2 separate regions of the Homo sapiens genome follow, and region 2 is linked to region 1. Evidence: promoter capture Hi-C in human tissues and cell types (Jung and others, 2019). All regions are on one chromosome and are shown on one strand. Each heading gives the region's core, a stretch centred on a gene start or on the middle of the fragment in contact. The rest is flanking DNA. Distances are from core to core; before and after follow the strand shown. Region 1 holds the start of GJB6 (gap junction protein beta 6). Region 2 overlaps GJB2 (gap junction protein beta 2).

Region 1 (6,133 bases), core at 123-2,622:
CAATGAGGCGCTCTCCACACCCCCAGTTATGTGACAGGCTAGAGCCCTGGTGTTCTCTCTTCAGAACCCCCCTCTCCTCCTTGGCAAGCTTCAAGCAACACCCCCAAAGACGCTGCTGGATCCAAACAACAGACAAAGCTCTCCACAGGAGCAGTTCTGAGCAGCACCCTGCAATTCTAAGGAGACTGCATGGGGGCAGGACATTTTCTTCTAGAACACTGGTTAGATTCTGCTAGAACTGGGGCAAGAAAATAGCTGTATGGCATAAAGTCTACTTGAGGGAAAAGAACAACCCGGCACGGTTACGTTCAATCAGACACTAAACAGAGTGCACGCCCACCCAGGGGACACTGAGGTCGCTGGGCCAGTGTCCCCGCCTGGTTGCAGGTCCCTAACCCCTCCGGGAGTGCAGAGCTGCGGGCAGGCCACACTCACCCTGACCCTTCCTGCTCCCCAGGAAGGGAGGTCAGCCCCGTTTGCAAAACACAGGATGCCCGTGACACCGGAGACAGGTCTTCTTCACCGACAGGAAGTGCCTTCTGGTGCCTGCACGTTTTAACTAAGATGTGTCGCCAATTACTTTTAATTACTGTCGTCCACGCTATTGTCATCAGCATTTCACAAGTTTCTCGGAAGCCCATCACGCAGCCCATACCCTGCGGTTCTCCGGGGACTTATGCATCGGCCCAAGTTGAGGGTTTGTCTGAACTGAAACCCGCATCCTAGACCTGGCTTTCTTCTCCCCAAATCCAAGGGGACACCCCGGTGACCCACAAAAGCTTAGAAAATCCAACACGCAGCAAATGAAACGGGGGAAAGGGGCACCGGCCCTCACTCTGGCCTCTTAGACACACGATATGAAACCTTCATAAAACCTGTTGTACAAGTCAAAGGGGACCACGCTGGGGTAAAAGTCAAACCAGTCCATCCTCGTTCCTCTGCGTACAGAGAGAGGGTCCAGCGCGGGCGGCGCCCACTGCCATCGGGCCGGGGCCGGGGCGCGTGGACAGGAGGGTGCGGATAGAGGCAGATCGGGGGCCCGGTCGCCCCACGTGCGGCCAGACACCCATCCCGGCCGCGCTCTGCCGGCTCTGATCCGGTGCCAGACAGGAGCGACAGGGGCGAGGTGGGGACCAGCCGCCGACCTCACCTGTTTTGTTTTCTTGGAGGAAATTCCTCCGCTGGGGGGCCGAGGTGGCACCGCCCGCTCGCCCCCCGCAAGACCCAGCCGGTCCGCGCCCGCTTACCTGCTCTGCGGCCGGCGGCCCTGGCGCGGGCTCTGCGCGGGGCGGCGCCCTTCGCTCCGGCTGGGCAGGCAGGTCGGGCTCGGGCGCCGCCGGCTGTCGGGCTCTCGTCGGGTTTCGGGTGAAGGCCCCGGCTCCCACCTGCTGCGCCTTTTAACCGCGCCCCACCCCGCCTCTGCCCTGACGCGGCTCGGGCGGGCTGCGGGAGGCGAGCGCTGTCACTCGACGAGCCCCCCGCCCCCACCTACCCGGGGCGCACTAGCCGCTGGGCGCGGACCGTCCCCCTGAGGAGCAAGGAGTGCAGGACCGGGGCTGTCCCTCCGGGGCCGGATGCGCAGAGCGGGGACCTTTTTCCCGTGGCGGGGGCGCAGGGTGGGGGACCCCTAAGAAGTGCACAGTGCGCGGGGCCCTCTTTCCGGCCCTTGGAGGGAACGGGGTACCGGGGATGCAGGGGGTAGGGCTCTCCCTCGGGAGCGCAGAGGGCGGGCCCAGCCCCCTCTGCACGGGTGCAGGTGTGGGGCGCCTGCTCAGGCCCTCGAGGGAACTCTTCCTCCCTAGTGCACCCGTGGGGAGCAGTGTGAGGGGCAGGCTGTGTTTTTGCCAGGACACATCCTCAGTCTTTCTGGGTGATCCAGCCTTCTCATAGCCCGCGGGGTGCACAGACCTCTCCTATAGGAGCCTGGAGGTTCTTTATTAATTAATGACCACTTAGAGGAGGTACAGGGGTTGTTTTTATTAATTACCTCCATCCTTTGAAGACTCCTCCGGGGAAGCGGAGCAGGCCTTCCTCGGGACAGTGCACCAGGAGAGACCACATTGCCTCCCCGCTTTTCAGTCAAGACTAGAAAGCTCAGGGCCAGTACAGGGAGTGGTGCAAGGGCTGGTGGGGTGGAAACGTTGGAAGCTATTTAGGCACCTGGCTTTACAGGTTCAAACCTGTCACGCATCGGACAAAAGATGTGTGACTTGCTTATTCTACAAAACTGTTCGGTAATTAAACGTCCCCACCTAAACCATATGCCACTTGTTGGGTCATATTCTCCCACGAAACAATTAAGATGTCTGTTAAAGGTCATGGAATTTGAGCCAAGACTTCATAAAAATCCGCTTTCCAAAATATTTTATTTGAGGAGAACAAGGTTCTTAAAGAATTTGCCCAAGTCAAGTTTTAAAAACTTTGGGGAGGCCCCTGAAATGGCCTTGAACTTGGAGAGTGGAGAGACACAGAAATCTCTAGGCTTTTTAAATTTATTTATTTATTTATTTATTTATTTATTTATTTATTTATTTTGACTAAGTCTGGCTCTGTTGCCCAGGCTGGAGTGTGGTGGTGTGATCTCAGCTCATTGCAACCTCTGCCTCCCGGGTTCAAGTGATTCTCCTGCCTCAGCTTCCCGAGTCGCTGGGATTACAGGCCCGCACCACCATGCCTGGCTAGGTTTTGTATTTTTAGTAGAGCTGGGTTTCACCATGTTGGCCAGGCTGGTCTGGAGCTCCTGACCTCAGGTGATCCACCTGCCTCAGCCTCCCAAAGTGCTGGGATTACAGGCGTGAGCCACCGCGCCGAGCATCTCTAGGCTTTTTTGTTAGACATCCTCACACTGCCCAGATGTGCCCTATGCGGTAAATCTTGGGTGCTCTGTCCTGCCCCACACAATCTAACTGTGGACTTCCCAGTCTTCTCTCCATTCCTCTCCCAAACAGATGCTTCAGCCAGGCTCAGCTGTTTGCATAGTAAAATAATTTTTCTAAGCAGATTGTAAACTTCTTTGGGGATTATAAACAGTTTAAGCTTTTCTTCCTCTTCTTCTTCTTTTGCATTTCTACAATACTAAGTACTTTGCTCATAGTATGTGCTGCTCCATGAGTATTTGAATATTGCTTGGCAAAGCTGAACCAGCATAGCAGATAGTCCTGGAAATAGCTTTTGCTTTTTCTAAAGCATGCCCTGTTCTCAATCCTGCACCTGATTCCATGCAGTACTGTGTCTGAGCATTGACATCCTGGACCAGTGGAAATTGTTCTAGGACTGGTGCAGGATAGAACTTTCAAACCAAAGTTGTCACAGAGAATGTGTTGCATTTGCTCATGTGTGCAAAAATGAAACCATCTCATCACTGTGTAAAATATCTCTTTTTCTGTTCAGGTTATCTATATTAGTCTGCATGGCCTTAACATTGAACACTGTCCTTCAGTTTTTGCTACTCATCAGACAGTCTTGTTGCAGCAGAAATTAAATGTGGACTGTATAAAACTTAAGGACTTGATGGGATGCGCATTTGAAAACTGAAAATTAGTTGTCTTAGTCCATTTGTGTTGCTATAACAGAATACCATAGACTGGGTAACTGATAAAGAAAAGAAATTTATTTTTCAGAATTCTAGAGGCTGGGAAGTCTGATATCAAGATGCTCGCATCTGGCGAGGGTTTTCTTGCTGTGTCTTCCCATGGCAGAGGTGGAGGGGCAAAAGAATGAGAAGATAGGGAAAGAAAAGAGAGAGAGGTGGGGGTGGAGAGAGAGGAAGGGGTTCAAACTCATTGTTTTTTCAGGAACCCACTCTCAAGATAACTAACCCACTCTAGAGATCACAGCATTAATCCATTCATGAGGGCAAAGCCATCATACCTCCTCACCTCTTAAAAGTCCCTCCCATCTTTCAACACTGTTTCATTGGGGATTAAGTTTCCAACACATGGACTTTAGGGGACACATTCAAACCATAGCATTCTGTCTTAGCCCCCCAAATTCATGCCTTTCTCACATGTGAAATACATTCATTCCATCCCAATAGTCCCCAAAGGCTTAACTCTTCCAGCACCAACTGAAAAGTTCAAATCCAGAGTCCCATCTAAATCAGATAAAGCTAAGACTCCAAGGCAGGCATAGCTGGCCTGAGGCAGACTCCTTTCCAGCTGTGAACCTGTGAAATCAAAACAGGCTATCTACTCCCAAAAGACAATGGTGGGGCAGGCATAGGAGAGATATTTTCATTCCAAAAGGGAGAGAGAGGCAGGAAGAAAGGGGTAACTGGTTCCAGCTACATCTAGAACCCAACATGCATGTGTTAGGCTGTTTTTGCATTGCCACAAATAAATACCCGAGGCTGGGTAATTTATAAAGAAAAGACAGGCCGGTGTGGTGGCTCACGCCTGTAATCCCAGCACTTTGGGAGGCTGAGGCAGGAGGATTGCTTGAGCTCAGGAGTTTAAGACCATCCTGGGCAATATAGTGAGACCTCATCTCTACTAAAAAAAAAAAAAAAAAAAAAAATTAGCTGGGTGTGATGGTGTGTGCCTGTAGTCCCTGTTACTCAGGAGGCTGAGGCAGGAGGATCACTTGAGCCTGGGTGATGGAGGCTGCAGTGAGCTATGATCTTGCCACTGTGCTCCAGCCTGAGCAACACAGTGAGACCGGTCTCAAAAAAAGAAAAGAAAAGAAATTTAATTCACTCATGGTTCTGCAGACAGTGCAAGAAACATGGTGCTAGCATCTGCTTCTGGTGAGGGCCTCAGCAAGTTTCCAATCACGTTGGAAGGACAAGGGAGAGCAAATGTCTCACATGGTGAGAGTGCGAGCAAGAGAAAAAGCAGGGAGGTGCCCTATACTTTTAAATAACCAGATCGCAAGTGAACTCATTGGTCACCAAGGGGATGGCACTAAGCCATTCATTAGGGATCCACCCCCATGATTCAAACACCTCCCACTAGGCCTCGCCTCCAACATTGGAGATTACACTTCAACATGAGATTTGGAGGGGACAAATACCCAAACTATATCAATGGAAAAAAAACATTAAGTCTTAAAACTGGTGAATAATCTCCTCTGACTCCCTGTCCTGCGATCTGGGCACACTGGAGTGGGGCTTGGACCCCTCAAGACCTCAGGCAGCCCCTCCCCTATGGCTTTGCTGGGATCAGTCCACCCAGCAGCTCTCAGAGGTTGGAGTCTCATGCCTGCAGCTTTCCCAGGTTGGAGTTGCACACTAGTGACCCTACAGTTCTGGGGGATCGGGGCTCCCCGGCTCCCATGCCTCACCTCTGTGACAAGTGTCTGCCTGAGCCCCTAGCCGGTCCAAGTCATCCTTTGAAATCTAGGTGGAGGCCACCATGGCCCCACAGCTTGTACATTCTGCATGTCTGCAGAGTCAGCACTACATGCATGCCACCAAGGTTTGCAGCTTATACCTTCCAGAATGGTGGGTCAAACTGTGGGGTGCTGTGCCAGAATTTGGGGAGCAGAGTCCCAGGGCAATGTAGGGCAGTGTATGCTGAAGTCCCACAGGCACCTCTCTGGGAACCTTGCCCTCAAAGTCTTAGCTTACCTTGAAGATCTCCGGGTAATGACCCTTCAGGGTCATTGTCTAATTGTCTTGGTGAATAGAAAGAACCTGGTTTCCTTCTATCCATCATCTCTTTAGCAGTGTCTTGGCCACCCTCAATAGTCTGTCGTGAACATGTTTTTTATTCTTACATGGCCAGGCTGAGAGTTTTCCAAATATTTCTGTTCCATTTCCCCTTTATTTATAAGTTCTGTCTTTATTTTACTTTTTGAGATGGAGTCTCGCTCTGTCACCCAGGCTGGAGCGCAGTGGCGCGATCTCGACTCACTGCAAGCTCCGCCTCCCGGGTTCACGCCATTCTGCTGCCTCAGCTTCCTGAGTAGCTGGGACTACAGGCACCCGCCACCATGCCCAGCTAATTTTTTTGTATTTTTAGTAGCGATGGGGTTTCACTGTGTTAGCCAGGATGGTCTCGATCTCCTGACCTCATGATCTGCCCGTCTCGGCCTCCCAAAGTGCTGGGATTACAGGCGTGAGCCACCGACCACACCAGGCCTAAATTCTGTCTTCAAATTGTTTCTCTCTTTTGTCATTATACTGTAAGCAGCC
Region 2 (6,313 bases), core at 3,708-6,207, 43 kb before region 1:
GCTGCACTGAGGACAGGGGGCCATCTGCCTTCTAGGAGGACACTGTGGACTGGAATATTGTTCCTGCCTTGAGGAGGAGTCTCCCAGCACAGTTACTGCTGCTTGACTGTCAGAGCATGCGTTTTCTTAGGGAAGTTGAAGGCAGCCTGTATCTAGTAAGGTGGTATGCAGTAGTTGCTTAATGCTGAATGTGTGAAGGAATGTGGGGCTGTGGAGCAGGAGGATAAAGTCTGAACTTGGACCTGTTGTTCTCAGCTATTCGAAGCTTTCTCAAGTGGAAAATAGACTGACTTTGGGTCCATCAGAGGGCAGAACAAATGCTGGAGAGCAGATGCTAGAATTCCGTCTTAAAACCATGAATCCTTACAGCGGCCTGCGTGGCCTGCGCCATCTGTCCCAGCCACGCCCTCCTTGGCCCCATCTCCCCCTTTCTCGCCCTGACTCTTTGGCATCCTGGCCTTTCCGTCTCACTGGGATGCTTCCCTAAGAGACTCGTGTGGTTTGCTGCCCTGTATCCTCCGGATCTCCTGACCACCCTATGTTAGTTACATTGCAATTTCCCGTTTCCCTCATGACGTCTTATTTTCCTCCATTTAAATTACCTGCAGCAGGTACCACCTACAGGGATCTGTTGAGAGTCGGCCTCCTTCAATGTGAAGCCTGATGTTTTGTTCTGTTCACAGCTATGCCCCCAGCCCCTAACAGTTGGTGGCAGTCAGTAAATATTGCCTGGGAAAACGAATCATTAGCCATGTGCAGAAATGGAACAGCGTCTCACCAAGTTGGGGTTGCCCCTGGACCCTGTGAACACTGGGGCAGCTGGGGTGTTCCTACTGTGCTTGTTACCGGCTTCAGGAATCAAATGCACTAGAGAATTGTAGAAGTGCGGTCCACATCCTCTGTGTGGTAGGACCAGCTGCTGTTGGCCTCTGAGCAGGATCTCTTACCTCTCTGAGCAGTGCCTTCCTGTTGCCCTCAGCAAGAATAACACTAACAGCCTAGGACTTCAGAGCACTGCTGCGAGGTGCAAATGAGGTGATATGGGAAAAGCATTTGGTGAGATGTATGGAAAGTGTAGAGACCCTGACCAGATGAGTCAATGGCCTTCTTCGTTACTCTGTTGACCTTTCTTTAATTACAGAGTCGCATAGCTGTCACCACCTTATCCTTTTTTGCTGCTATATTTGCCCCCAGCCATTCCTCTCCCGGCTTATGTGGCTAGACTCACCTGCCTGTGCTGCAGTTACTCCAGGCTTTGTGTAAATGTGCATTTTTTTCCAGCCCCCAGTTTATCAAGCTTTGCTTGAGTCACTTGTATCTGAAATACCATCTGTCACTCTTCCAGGTTGGGATCTGTCTAGTGGAAAACAGATGACAGTCATATGTTACTTAGTGCTTTACTATGTGGAGAACGTTTACATAAATTATCTTATTTCATTGCCACTAAGCCGGGGAAAGATTCAGGAAACCCATTTTAAGATGAGGACACTGAGGTCAGGGTAAGTGAGTGAGCTTTTACCCACCTCTCAGCTGCTCTCTAGTTGTCAAAGACCAACCCGTGGGGGTGGCTCAGGCCCGACCCCTGCAGCATATTCCTTGGGGCCTCCCAAGTGGGCCCGATCTGCTCACCCCAGCTGTGACTGTCTTTTGACAGGAGGAGGGAGCAGCGAGGCTGCACCCACTGCTCATAAAAAGCAGAGCTTGTCCACGCCGAGGGCTCGGCTGGGTGGGAGGCCGCTTCCACAAGGCTTTTTCTTGCTCCATACAAAGTGCAGACTGATGCTTTGAGATATAGTCAGGATTATCATTTTCAGAGCTCAAGCTCTAATTTCCAGGCATGTGACCAGACCTCTCTATCCATTCCTACAAGTGGTCGAGAGTAGCCCATAATTATTTTGGCTTGGTCTTTTAATAGCTTGAGAGTAATAATCTACATAGCTTGTAGAAGTGAATGTACTTATTTTAAAAGTTCTGTGTTTTTTGATGTTGTTGTTGTTTGGGACAGGATCTTGCTGTCGCCTAGGCTGGAGTGCAGTGGCACAATCTCAGCTCACTGCAGCATGGACCTCCCAGGTTCAAGCAATCTTCCCACCTCAGCCTCCTGAGTAGCTGAGACTACAGGCACATGTTACCACGCCTGCCTGGCTAACATTTTTATTTTTTATAGAAACAATGTCTCCCTATATTGCCCAGGCTGGTTTTGAACTCCTGGGCTCAAGTGATCCTCTCGTCTCAGCCTCCCAAAGTGTTGGGATTATAGGTATAAGCCTCTGCACCCAGCTTAAAAAATCCTATTTTCACAGTCTATGTGCAGAGCATTTTGGAAGTCAGGTAGAAACCATTTCCCATTTTCTATTACCTGGGTGATAGTTGACTGGTTTTTGTTCTTTGAAATCCATTTTAAAAGTGTATGGTCCTCTATGAAAATACTTCTAATTATTGATGTGTGAAATGCTTTGAAATCCTTGGATGGAAATCTTGTACCATGAAAGAACAGAACTGTTGGTGGTGTCTCTGGGAGAGGCTCACGAGGGCCGGGCAAGCCTGTGGGGGTAGCAGGCAGTCACTCCCATGGGGACAGGCTGACCTGGCAGGCTTATTTCCCATGGAAGTGGGCACTGAGGAATAAAAAGCAGTTTCAGGCCAGGTGCGGTGGCCCATGCCTGTAATCCTTGCACTTTAGGAGACTGAGGCAGGGGGATCCCTTCAGCCCAGGAGTTCGAGACCAGACTGGGCAATATAGTGGGACCTCGTTTCTACAAAAAATGAAAAAATTAGTGGAGTGTGGTGGCACACTCCAGTGGTCCCAGCTACTTGGGACGCTGAGGTGGGAGGATCGCTTGAGCCTGGGAGGCAGAGGTTGCAGTGAGCCAAGGTCATGCTATGAGTAACATTTTGAAGGTCCACTTCTGGGATTCATCCAGGAGCTAAACGGGTCATGTCCAGCCAACTCAGCATTCACCAAGGTACGTTTCCAGACCAAACACCACATTGTCCATAGACTGATATGCCTCAAAAACCTGGTAGAGGTGGGCACGGGGTTAGGTAGAAATCATCTTCCTCCCTTCCTTCCCCACCAAACTTTCTGGTGACAGAAGCTTTTCTGTAACTGGGGCAGAATGGGGTCAGACACTCTGGCAACTTACCCATTGGTGTTATGAAATATAAAACATTAATGTATTTATATAAAAAGTGATAGATGAAATTAAAATTTGCTGTTCTATTAAAACCATATTAGATTTTAAATTATTATAGAGATTATATTTTAATGTTTTAAATGTATTTGATACATTACAAAATTATTTTAGTTACAAGCATATCATTAAAGCTATTCTTTATTATTACAAAATGCTTTTACAATGCTATTCTTGACAACAGGAAAATACTTACCCTCACTGAAATATGTGGAGTACCATTTTTTGGAAACCATGTCAAGCATAATGGCAATATTCAGGTTCAATCTTCCTATAGATCTGCTCAATATTTATCTAAACCTTAGCTTCTATTCTTTTCACATGTTATTAGCTATATTTTCACTTAAAAAATTGGAGGCTGAAGGGGTAAGCAAACAAACTTTTGAAGTAGACAAAGCTCATCTTTAATCAACAGACTTTAGAGTCCAGTCTTTCCAAATCTGTTTTTAACGACAGAAACTTCTCCCTCCCCTGCCCCATTTTGTCCTCCCCATTAAATGGTACTGTGTCAATAAAATTCCCAAGCGACCTCTTTAAATCAGCGTTCTTTCCGATGCTGGCTACCACAGTCATGGAAAAGGGAGATGTGTTGGACAGGCCTGTCATTACAGGTAGTAGTTGGTGGTACATCCAGTCTGTATTTCTTACACAAAATTACATCTAAATATTTGACATGAGGCCATTTGCTATCATAAGCCATCACTAGGAACTTCTAGTCTGTCTCACTCGATTGAGGCTACAATGTTGTTAGGTGCTATGACCACAATGAATACAACAGACAGCCTCTCAGCTGTGCTGCAAAGTATTCATAACCAAAAGACCATATTTCAAATTAAATCATAGTAGCGAATGACATACCATTTACATATTACAATCTGAGCCTCTGAAACAGGGGGAACATATAATGGTATCCAGAACATCTTTACATCAAAATAACCTATCATACTACAAAGTTTTCACTTCCAAAAAGTGTAACAGAGTTTAAGGCACTGGTAACTTTGTCCACTGTTAGAGATTAAAACTTCCAAAGCAAATGAAAGAACCAATGTTCACCTTTAACGTGGGGAAAGTTGGCAAAAAGAACCCCAGGAGGACACCCAAACCTTCTCTGTGTCCTCTGTGGAACCTGGCTTTTTTCTCTTGTCCTCAGAGAAAGAAACAAATGCCGATATCCTCTGTTTAAAATATGAAAGTACCTTACACCAATAACCCCTAACAGCCTGGGGTCTCAGTGGAACTAACTTAAGTGAAAGAAAATTAAGACAGGCATAGAATTAGGCCTTTGTTTTGAGGCTTTAGGGGAGCAGAGCTCCATTGTGGCATCTGGAGTTTCACCTGAGGCCTACAGGGGTTTCAAATGGTTGCATTTAAGGTCAGAATCTTTGTGTTGGGAAATGCTAGCGACTGAGCCTTGACAGCTGAGCACGGGTTGCCTCATCCCTCTCATGCTGTCTATTTCTTAATCTAACAACTGGGCAATGCGTTAAACTGGCTTTTTTGACTTCCCAGAACAATATCTAATTAGCAAATAACACAATTCAGTGACATTCAGCAGGATGCAAATTCCAGACACTGCAATCATGAACACTGTGAAGACAGTCTTCTCCGTGGGCCGGGACACAAAGCAGTCCACAGTGTTGGGACAAGGCCAGGCGTTGCACTTCACCAGCCGCTGCATGGAGAAGCCGTCGTACATGACATAGAAGACGTACATGAAGGCGGCTTCGAAGATGACCCGGAAGAAGATGCTGCTTGTGTAGGTCCACCACAGGGAGCCTTCGATGCGGACCTTCTGGGTTTTGATCTCCTCGATGTCCTTAAATTCACTCTTTATCTCCCCCTTGATGAACTTCCTCTTCTTCTCATGTCTCCGGTAGGCCACGTGCATGGCCACTAGGAGCGCTGGCGTGGACACGAAGATCAGCTGCAGGGCCCATAGCCGGATGTGGGAGATGGGGAAGTAGTGATCGTAGCACACGTTCTTGCAGCCTGGCTGCAGGGTGTTGCAGACAAAGTCGGCCTGCTCATCTCCCCACACCTCCTTTGCAGCCACAACGAGGATCATAATGCGAAAAATGAAGAGGACGGTGAGCCAGATCTTTCCAATGCTGGTGGAGTGTTTGTTCACACCCCCCAGGATCGTCTGCAGCGTGCCCCAATCCATCTTCTACTCTGGGCGGTTTGCTCTGGAAAAGACGAATGCACACAACACAGGAATCACTAGCTAGGACAGAACAGGGAGACTTCTCTGAGTCTGGGTAAGCAAGCATGCTTAAATCTCTTCCTGAGCAAACACCAACTCTTACACAACCTCACCAAAACAGGTGAAGACAGAACCAACTTAGTTTGTCATAGGATTAAATGTATAGTTCCCAAACCCTCTTGAACGTGTTTTTAGGTGTTCTCTGATAAAAAGTAGCTTGTTCACCTGAGTAATTCACCCAATCTTTAAACACATCATAAAAATTTGCTGTGCTGGGGAGTGTCATAAAGTCCTCGTTAGCTGAAAGGCACTCAGGGGTTCTGACCGTACCCCTGCATCCTCTGCAGAGCTTCCTTGGGTCTTCCTGACTCTGCAGAAGTTACTCAGCGTTCAACAGCTGCATCCATTTGCAGTCTCAAGTTTTGGCTGTACCACTGGGGCCGATACTAGCTTGGGCCAACCTTGCTCAAAGGCTGAGAGGCCAAGTACAGGAGAACCGTGAGGATAAGATGTCTAGTCTCTCTGCTGAGCCACTTTCCTTAATGTCTTGAATGAATTTTCACAGACGTGGCATGTAGCAGTGAAACTGTTGTTACCAGTGGTTAAGTTTACATTTGAGGCACCCCGAGTTAAAATTTTACAAAGGACCTTGCTTCCTCCTACGTGAAAGGAAGAGGTTAGGAATGCCCTCTTCATGGAGAAAAGCCACTGTGAGCACAGACTTTCGTGTAGGCTTTGTGGATGGCTTGGTGGCCTCACTGTCAGGCTGGCACTGATGGCTCAGTTAGCATATCTGTTTTGATAAGTGCTGCAACAGTGCATTATAATTGTGGGCTGTGGTTTTAATTTCAAAGTGTTTCTTAAAAGACACATTATTTTAAAATGACAGAAAATTCAACTCCCTCGGTTACTGGCC

The links. The method cuts DNA at HindIII sites, captures the fragments that hold promoters and counts their contacts. A contact is called where the count stands out against the background at its distance.
Region 2: a contact is called between a fragment that was not itself captured here and the fragment with the promoter of GJB6 in region 1, in 5 of the 25 tissues and cell types used here (H1 embryonic stem cells, lymphoblastoid cells, mesenchymal stem cells and 2 more).

The regions. Positions count from the first base shown.
Region 1 is chr13:20,230,947-20,237,079 of GRCh38, forward strand. It overlaps GJB6 (gap junction protein beta 6), which reads right to left and starts at 1,373. Exons shown (of 5, transcript NM_001110219.3): 1 at 1,248-1,373; 2 at 436-559. The HindIII fragment of the contact is 5,298 bases long and covers 434-5,731 here.
Region 2 is chr13:20,184,224-20,190,536 of GRCh38, forward strand. It overlaps GJB2 (gap junction protein beta 2), which reads right to left. Exons shown (of 2, transcript NM_004004.6): 2 at 3,247-5,380. The coding sequence starts at 5,358. The coding sequence ends at 4,678. It overlaps LOC107984553 (a long non-coding RNA gene), which reads right to left and starts at 1,968. Exons shown (of 3, transcript XR_001749956.2): 1 at 1,229-1,968. The HindIII fragment of the contact is 5,520 bases long and covers 2,198-6,313 here.